Regions from separate parts of the Homo sapiens genome. Here region 1 is linked to region 2. The links are contacts of gene promoters, found by promoter capture Hi-C in human tissues and cell types (Jung and others, 2019). All regions are on one chromosome and are shown on one strand. Each heading gives the region's core, a stretch centred on a gene start or on the middle of the fragment in contact. The rest is flanking DNA. Distances are from core to core; before and after follow the strand shown. Region 1 has its middle 40 kb from the start of TFAP2B. Region 2 holds the start of TFAP2D (transcription factor AP-2 delta).

The links. The method cuts DNA at HindIII sites, captures the fragments that hold promoters and counts their contacts. A contact is called where the count stands out against the background at its distance.
Region 1: a fragment that was not itself captured here is called in contact with the fragment with the promoter of TFAP2D in region 2 in 3 of the 25 tissues and cell types used here (adrenal gland, neural progenitor cells and stomach).

Annotation. Positions count from the first base shown.
Region 1 is chr6:50,776,832-50,781,770 of GRCh38, reverse strand. No RefSeq gene overlaps it. Among named protein-coding and RNA genes, the nearest start is that of TFAP2B, 40 kb to the left of the region's middle. RefSeq lists a silencer at 1,709-1,909. The HindIII fragment of the contact is 3,917 bases long and covers 296-4,212 here.
Region 2 is chr6:50,711,383-50,716,075 of GRCh38, reverse strand. TFAP2D (transcription factor AP-2 delta) reads right to left here and starts at 2,550. Exons shown (of 8, transcript NM_172238.4): 1 at 1,982-2,550; 2 at 463-960. The coding sequence starts at 2,020. RefSeq lists an enhancer at 286-816. The HindIII fragment of the contact is 8,496 bases long and covers 982-4,693 here.

The DNA of each region.
Region 1 (4,939 bases), core at 1,005-3,504, 66 kb before region 2:
TACAACCAAGGAAATAGATTTTGCCAACCATCTGAGTGAGACTGGAAGTGGATTTTTCCCTAGAGCCTCCAGAAAGGATCCCATCCTGGTTGCTACCTTGAGTTAGCCTTATGAGCATCTAAGCAGAGAACGCAGTTGAGCGTAGCTGAGCTTGTGACCTATAGAAATGTGCACTAATAAATGGATGTTGATTTGGGCCACTAAGCTTGTGATAATATGTTATGCAACAGTAGAAAATGAATACAGCTGCATTGAATTGGTGACTTTTGTGCTGATTGAATCATAAGTAGGAGCTGGATGGTGATGGTGGAATATAATGTTCCAAGCTAAGAGAACCATATTGGCAAACTCTTAGATTGTGAAGAGTTTCAGGAATTCCAAGAAGCTTAATGTGGCTAGACAATGGACTGTGTGTGTGGGGAGGGGATGATGTGGGGGAAACAGGGAAGCAAGATAAAGCTGAAAGGGACTGGAGAAGAGAGCAAGGCCAAGTCAGAATGATATATTGTCAATTGTATAGAAGTTTGACTTTGTCATAAGGGCAATAGCAAGCCATGAAGAGGATTATTTGGGATGTGCAAATCATATTTACTTTTTACAATGAATCTCTCCAGTGAGGAGAATGGAATAAAAAGCAGGACTGGAGGCAGAAAATCCAGTTAGGAGGCTACTGCAGTAATGCAATCATGAGTTGCTAGTGCCCGGAACTAAGTGATTGGCTATCTGATAGTCATATTCACTAGGTCCTGACAAATTAATTACTTACTTTATTTATTTATTTATTTTGAGACAGAGTCTCGCTCTGTCACCCAGGCTAGAGGGCAGTGGCGTGATCTCGGCTCACTGCAACCTCTGCCTCCCAGGTTCAAGCGATTCTTGTGCCTCAGTCTCCCGAGTAGCCCAGATTACAGGCAATCACCACCACACTCAGCTAATTTTTTGTATTTTTAGTTGAGATGGAGTTTTGCCATGTTGCCTTGGCTGGTTTCGAACTCCTGAACTCAGGCAATCCCCATGCCTTGACCTCCCAAAGTGCTGGGATTACAGGCGTAAGCCACCGCACCCAGCCAAGTTAATTTATTATAATATTTTTATATTAATTTATCAGAATCTAGTGATTAACTGTAAGAGAGGATAGAGATAAGGATAGTTAAGATGGTTCACAAGTTTCTGTCTTGCGCAACTGTATGGAGTTGTCTTTAGCAAACATAGAAAATTTGGGATGTGTAATTAGTTGAGGGAGGTTGATTAGGATTCCATATTTTAATGTGTGTTGAGTTCGAAGATGCTATTTTTCATAAGATGATAATAACCATTGAAAATGGACAACATGGATCTGGAGTGCGGAAGAATATTATGGATTTATAATTCATTAGCATTGTGCCAAGACAGGCAAGCTACAGTAGTAAATACACCCTCCCAGCCTCCCTCATCCCAATTTCAGTGGCTTAAAATAATATATGTTTAGGTCAAAATAATGTGTGCTTCTTCTCCATGTGGCCATTCCGGGATCCAGGTACTCTCTATCTTGTGTCTCTGCCATCTGTAAAACAGTGGCTGTCAACTGTGAGTGATTTAGCAATGTTTGGAGATAATTTGGCTCCTTATAATTGTGAGGGATGCTACTGAAGTCTACTGCATAGAAACCAAAAATCTACTAAACATCCTGCAGCACACAAGATAGCTCTCATAATAAAGAATTATCTGGCCCCAAATGTGCCAGATAATTCTTTATCAATAGTGCCAAGGTGGAGAATCCTTGCTCTGAACTTTATCATATAACTCATGTAGAAGAGGACAGAACACAGAGAAAAGTGCATGACTGATTTTTACTGGTAAATCCTGGAAGTAGCAAGTATCACTCCCACTCTTCCTCTGGAGATAACTTAATCGCATGGCTGCAAACAACAAGAAGTTTAGTCTAGGTCAGAGATTGGCAAACTATGGCCCTCAGGAATAATCCAATCCGCTGCCTACTTTTGTAAATGATGATTTATCAGAACACAGTCATGGCCGTTTGTTTACATATTGTCTATAGCTACTTTCATGCTACATCAGCAGAGTTGAGTAGTTGCAACAGAGACCACATGGCCTGCATAGACTAAAATATTTACTATTGGGCCCTTTATTTAAAAAAAATTGCCAATCTCTCATATGGGAATATACGGCAGGACAAAGGAAAACTGGACTTTGTTAGATGACAATTGGTCTCTGCCATGAGAAAAGACATGTAATTGAAATTATGGTAGAACATTATGTTGCCCAGGGAGAACGCTGATGGTGAGAAAACAAAAGACAATATTTAAACCCACAGTTAGGTTTTATTGACAGTAAGACATCATGACTCAACTTGGAAGGAAGACTAAACATAAATTTATATCATACCTCTGTGCCTGTTTTCCAAATAGCTCTTGATATAAAAAAATTAAGGAAATGCAATATTAAAGAATAGCTTTGAAAACTTACAATAGGTTCTAACTGGCAATAACCAACATGGCCACATTAAACTTTTTTCTTCTGACTCTTATGGGGATTTATTTAGTTATTTCAATTTTTCTTAAGTGTCTTGGTCTTATTAAATTATGATGCAAATGGGAAGTAGCTGAAATAGATAATTTACTTGTGTAGTAGGTGTGTCTGCCAATTTGGCTATATGAAAAATGTCACTTTATTTTCTATAATGTGACTTAATTTCTATTTTTGAGCCTTCATTTGGAAATGTGGCAGAAATTAGCTCTCAGTACACTCAGGGTCTTCCTGGGTTACATATGTGTCCCAGGGTTTCATGGGGAGGGCTTATGTAGCACCAGACATGGAGGAACATCTGGCCTAGGTCTTCATCTGTTGATGCTGGCTTCTGTATTTTGTGATGCTAGGCCTGGAAGTCTGCCAACTACATTTCTCATAACCCTTTGCAAGCTGGATTCTAATTTGGTTCTGCAATGGGGCACAGATGGGAAGTGGAAGGAAGGAAGAAAGGGGGGAAAGGATGTTCCAGCATATTTCCAGTTCCTGCTATCATCCTTCCAGCAGAAGAGGTAGGTTAAGGCTCCAGCTTCCAGCTTCTTTTGCACTCCCAGAATTAGGACGCTCTACCCTCTCAAAAAATCTGCCAGCATTAATCTTGAGGTGGGTTCTCTCAGAGAGAGGTTCAAGCAACACCCATGGGTAGGGGTGTGCTTGCTTCAAAGTTCCTACATTCACGTAACTTTACTTCCTTACTTTTGTTTCCCCATTTCTGGGGATGGTAGCTGCTTTTTCAATTACGAGCATTTGGGTGACTCAGTGTCTCATTTTTGCTCTTTCGGCCTTCTAACACTTGTTTAACTCATTCTCTTTGAAATCCCTGAGTAGGGGGAAGGTCTGAATTCCTATCTAGTCTTTGATTGGCATGTCTCAGGTTTTTCTTGTGTGTCCTTATGTTCAACCTATGAGGAATCTGCATACTTGCCAGCTATCTGGATTGCTCTTGGGTGAACCTGAAATATTCAAGTGCTGCTTCCTTTGTTCCTCTTGCATCCACATCATGCTAGTCTGTCCCTGCCATCTTGAAATAAACTCCTTAGGAGAAATGTGAGTCTGTCTGAGTGCCACCTGCCTAGATGCACATCACATAGACAGCTCTTTGCTTCTGTACTGTGCTGGGCTTTCTTCCTCCGCTGGGCTTTTCTCTGGGATGAGGACATAATTCCACCTCTATAACAAGATTCACACCCCAACCTCACCCCCAGGACATGGCCCTATCTCAGAGATGCAATGCTACACTAAGCTTTAAACAATTATCCTTTGGCCGGGCGCAGTGCCTCATGCCTGTAATCCTAGCACTTTGGGAGGCCGAGGTGGGTGGATCACCTGAAGTCAGGAATTCAAGAGCAGCCTGGCCAACATGGCAAAACCCCATCTCTACTAAAAATACAAAAATTAGCTGGGCGTGGTGGCACATACCTGTAATCCCAGCTACTCAGGAGGTTGAGGCAGGAGAATCGCTTGAACCCAAGAAGCGGAGGTTGCAATAAGTCGAGATTGTGCCACCGTCTCTAGCCTGGGCGACAGAGCAAGACGCCATCTCAAAAAACAAGCAAACAACAACAAAAAAAACTCCTTCTTCTTTGTTCTTTCCCCAACCTATGGATTATTTTCTGGTCTCCAGTGTGTGTGGTGTTGTGGGGGAGGTTTCGGAGCGGGTGGAAGTAATAAGGTCCTGACTGAGATGCTTTTAAATCTCAAGTCCCCTCTAGAGCCTAAGATTTTGAAACTGAAAATTTTTATGAAAGTTTCTTTAAAACTTTTGTTGCCTCCATTCTTCTGGGTCACATTCCTTCCCTGAGGCAGTGCAGGCAACATGTTAGCTGCCCCAAAATGTGGAAGGAAGGTAGGAATAACCAGAAATACAAGGTGTGTCTGTTAGTTTTCAAAATAGCTTACTGCCCCAAATGTTTTTAAGTCTCCTAGAATCCTAAAGCCCTTTTTCCCGATCTCTAGCTTCCCATTTCCCTGATCACAACTCTCCTCCTCAATTTTTCACTCTCCCATCTCCCCCCATCTCCTGTTTCCTAGATCCTGGTCTGGCTTGTGCTGGGCACCCTGTGTGTATTTTCATCATGACACATACCATATTCTAATGGCTATTATCTTCATAGGAGAATATGAGAAGCTTGACATCAATAAAAATATTCTATTCCACTCTGTATCTTCAGTCTCTAGGACGAAGTCTGGCATAGAAAGGGTACAATAAGCTGAAGACAAACTGATCTCTAGATAAAAAATGATTTGTCCAAATTCTAAGTATTAAAGACAGTAGCTAATATTCACATAGCACTAACATGCCCCTTTTCTGCTCTAAACAGTTTAGATACACCAAGTCTTTGATTCTGACAGTAATTCTGTGAGTAGGTATCTATTATCATCCTCATTTTACAGATGGGAAAATGGAGGAGGC
Region 2 (4,693 bases), core at 1,301-3,800:
TGGGACGCCTCGGAAGACCCTGTAAAGTGCGGAGATTGAGGGTACGATTGGTCATCAATTTATTGGATCTTACTCTGAGTCCGGTTGGCCCAACCCCAGACTCCTCGATCTCCTCCACCTCATCCCCTCAGGGTCACAAATGTTGATTCACAAAAGACTTCTGTGAGGACAAACCAAAGATGGAGGGCCGCAGCCGCCCGGACTCCCGCACTTCCAGGTGAAATGCTTGGATCCAATGAGAGGAAGAGAACGGGCACACTCCTCCTCTAATTGTTTTGATAACTTTCCATAAGTGGTGTGTGTGTGTGTGTGTGTGTGTGTGTGTGAGAGAGAGAGAGAGAGAGAGAGAGAGAGGAGAAGAGAGAGAGAAAGAGAGACGCTTTACAGTCGGAGCATTAATGGGGCGGCAGGGGGAGGGCGAAGAGGGGAGGGAGCAGACAAATTCGCTGCATGCTTATTTACCTGCAAGTCGTCTGCTCCCGCGGCGGCCAGCCCCAGGCTGGGCCCTGGCAGGAGTCTTTGATCTGGGTGCATTCCATACTGAGAGCCATGGCTCATGAGGGACAGGTCATGGCGGCGGTAGGCATCGAGGCAGCCCAGCTCCCGCCTCTGCTCGTCCAGGCAGGACGACTTGAGCGCCCGCGCATTGTGCAGGTTAATAAAGTCGGTGGGCTCCCCGTGGTGGATCTGCTGGTAGTACTGTTGCGAGTGGTGGAGAGAGTTCAGAGAGTAGGCGTCGGGGGTGACGGCCGGGTGGCTGTGCTGAAACTCGTAATGGAAGGACTGGTGGTGGAGCGGGGTGTACTGGTGGTTAGTGGAGAAGTAGGGGGACGCAAACTCGGTGCCGGTGGTGGAGTAAGTTAAAGGAGAGGAGGAGGAATAGGCGACAGTGGAATTGGCTACTGACTCCAGACAGCCAAGCTGCATCAAACGGTAGCTGTTTGATCCGTCGTGACGTATCTGGAAGGAAGAGGGGGAAAAGGGAGAGCAGAAAAACTTGAGGTTTGTCATTTTGCAACCAAGGCGCCGCTCTCCCGGAGCCAGGAGCTTTCTCTGGCACTCCAAGGAAAGCGAGCGCGTAGGACTCGGGCCGAGCCGAAGCCGGGTCTCAGCGTCTTCACCAGAGAGCCTTTGCAAACAGGCGAACTGGGGGTGGGCGGCCTCGTCCTCACAGTCGAGAGAGCGGAAAAAAAATCCCCCACCCTATATAGGTGCGGGTGACACCACACACGCACACACACGCACAGACACACACACACAGACACACACACAGCCCCTGCCCAACTTGTGCAGGGAGCTTGGCGTTGGGATCCAGGTTTGCAACTGACTCCGGGGCCGCGGGTAGCAGAGGAACGAGTCCACCCGAAAAGAGCGCTGGCCCGGGGCGCCTTGCCACTCTAACTAGACCCCAGCATCGAAATTCTGCGCCTGTCTATGCCGAGATGTTCGGCCCGGGCTGCTCAAAATCATTGTCCATATATTTTAAAAAATCCAGTCTGTGCAAATCGTTCAACTTGCTCCCTTCCTTAGTCATTCGAGGGAGGGAATCCGACTCCCTCTTTTCTGCTTCCCTTTCCTTGAATAAGCCCATTCCAAAAGGGGTGCGTTTTCCCCATCCCCCTTGTGCATCTACTGCTTCCCCACCAGTCCCTTTTCTTTGCTTTTCTGAGAATCTTTCTTTCCGTCTCTATCTCTTTCTCTTCACTCCCCCCTTTTATTATTAAGATTATGTTTTCCCGCTCATTATGGCAAATGTTTCTTAACGTGGCAGAGAGTTGCCCTCCCTGGCGACAGATGTCATAACGAACTTTCTCCCCTTTCCTTCCTTAACTTCCCCCGAAAGACAGATTATAATTAAACGTAACGGTCCAATATAGATTAGAGACAGGGGAGGCTGCCACCGCCGCCGCCACCGCCGCCACCGCCGCCGCCGCCACACACACGCGCGCTCAAAAAAAAAAAAAAAAAAAAGTAATAATACCTCGGCATCGTGGACTAGTCCCGGAAAGGTAGTTGACATGTTGGGTTTCTCCGAAAGCTTACGATGCAATTTCCCCCTCCAAAAAAAGAATCGGGAAAAAAAAATCCAAACTTCTTGTATTTTCCAATTTTTAAAGGAAAAAAAAAATGTTCTATAGGTAGATATCTAAATTGTAATGGTTTTGCCCGGATCAGATAGCTCCTTGCCTCGTACCCACTTAAAAACCTGTAGGAACAAAATTTTCCCTCTGCACAAAAGCAGCTCCCTGGAACAGATTTTGTACTTGCTGAGTATTTCTTTGGCTGATGTCGTAGGTCCCTTGGTAATATAGAAGTTTTGAAAATTAAGCATCAGCACTGAGAACTGGGAGGACAATAGGCAGAAGAGATTTATCCCAGGAGACAAGGAATAAATATTGTATCTTCGCCTAATAAGGAACTGGAGGTTCTTTCAACATTTTTATCCATTTTTTCCAACCTTTATCATGCTTTTCTATACCGACTGAGGTGGGGACTTATCTCTGTGGAGAGTATTTGCACACATTTTATTGTGAAGCTAGAGCTCTAGCTCCAATATATGTATATTAGAGATAGAAATATATATTAATTAAAGCTTCCTTTTATATGGGGAAGTGTTCATTCCTATTGGTTCCACTCCCTGGATGCTGAAAGCTGCTTTTTCCAACAACCACCCGAATCAATTTTGCCCAGATTGGGGTGTCTGCCTTCGCCCAAGTGGAAACAATGCTGGTCTTTCCATATTTACATTGAATTTGGGTTCTTTCCCCTTTTTTGAAAGGCAAAATCAAGCGGTGGCTTACACTTTTCAGCAGCTTTAAAAATAAATAATGGTGATGGACAGTCCCAAGTTTCCATCATCAGGAAATGGTGTAACTGGCAATGCATTTAGGAAAAATGCAAGGGAATAAAGATGTAAGACAAGATTCTACATTTAGGTAAACTGTTGTCTTTCACTCCCCAAACCAAACCATATCCCCCCTCTTTTGTGTTTTTCTTCTTCCCTTTTGGAAACACTGCTGGTGGTGGTGGGGTGTAGACCGTTCAGCAGTAGCATTAGGTTTTTGAACACTATTACCCCCAAAATAACCCTTAAATGCTTGGAAGTTATATTTTATAAATAGAGGGCAGGAAGGAAGCAGTGCACACATATTTCCATCTCTTCAGTGGATTTCTTGACTTTCAAACAGTTTTTGAGCTTTCCTTCCTTCAAAATTCAGCTTCCTCCACCAAGTTGTTTAGTGCCTGGAGGGGGTGGTGGTAGCTATAAACCTGAAATACTGAGGCTTTGCTCCTCAGTGTCTACATTATAAGAAAGAACTGGCTGGCCCCACAGACTCATCTCATAGATAGAAGGGGTAATTCAGTCTTAATTGCCATTTCATTTGGTTTGCTTTTAAGTGTTTAAGCTGAGAAGGTGTCTTAATAATAAGCCTCAGGCAAACAGGCATGTGGCTTTTTTTTTTTTTAGGTTGGGGTTTGGGAGGGTTTATTAGGATCTGCTCATGCAGGCTAACTGGGGCTGTCACTCAGAGCTCTTTGCTTTATACAAATGGACAAAGGCACACGACAAGAATTGAAATGCATTGTCTGAAATGGAGATACACGATTCTTCAGCCCCACATGGGGTCAGCAGCCAACACTTGTTCCCTATTTCAAGGTGTGCCAGTGCTGCCCCCCTCCCACCCCTCCTTGAAATTCCATATTTTGGCCTAATGAAGTAAGGAGACTGAGAGACCAATGATGACAAAAAGGAAGAATATCCAACTTAATCTTTAAGTAAAAGGGGTAAAATGAGTGCTGTTGGCTCTAGGGGTTGAATCCCAAAAATGTTTGCAGTGGAGTCTTTGTTTACCAGGTCTGAGTGGGGCCTCCATAGCTTACCCACGGAGAAAATAACTAATCATCTCTGGGAGATGGAGACTGCCCCCACGACCTTAACTCAGGCACCCCTGCCCCTGGGAAAGTGCAGACCATTCCCTGGAAGAATATGTAGGACTTGCAGGTTATCTTGGGGAATGCCCAGGTGCGCTTTTCCTGGTGGATGATATTGGCTTCCCAGTTAGTCCCGGTCAAATGGAAGAGGATAGCCCTTCTCAGACATGTTGCAATCTCCTTTCCAACACCCCTACTGTCAGATACACCTTCATTGAAGGTGACGGTACCTTCTCTTCCCAGTTTAGGTCCAGGCAGCAGACACAAAACCCTCTCCCCGGGGAACAACAATGAGGAAGCTCAGGAAGATGTGGCCGCCTGCTCTGCCTGCTGGCCCAGAGTGTTTGTTCCACATGTTTGTCCCTGTCTGGAATAAGAGCCACACATAGCCCCCCTCACCCCTGCCACCGCACTCAGAAGATATAGCTTTATGATACTCTCGGTAATGAGCTCTGGCCTTGAACTGAGTACACCCCATGGAATGACCTCCAGTAGCCTGGACCCTGTGAACATCAGGACATCACCAACTAACTGGCAATCATCGCATTCCACCCCCTAACCCCACTTTCATGGTTCACTTTCCTGAGTGACTTTTAGGTATCCAAACAAAGAGTGTCCAGGGTTTAACTTACATGCTTGTTGAACTCTTGTGGACATGAGGGGAAACTAAAGATCCTGAAGAGTGAGAAAAGACCCTTTCATTTGTACTTAAGGAAAATGAAGCAGGAAGGATAAAATGGCTCTCTTTTAGTTTTGAGAT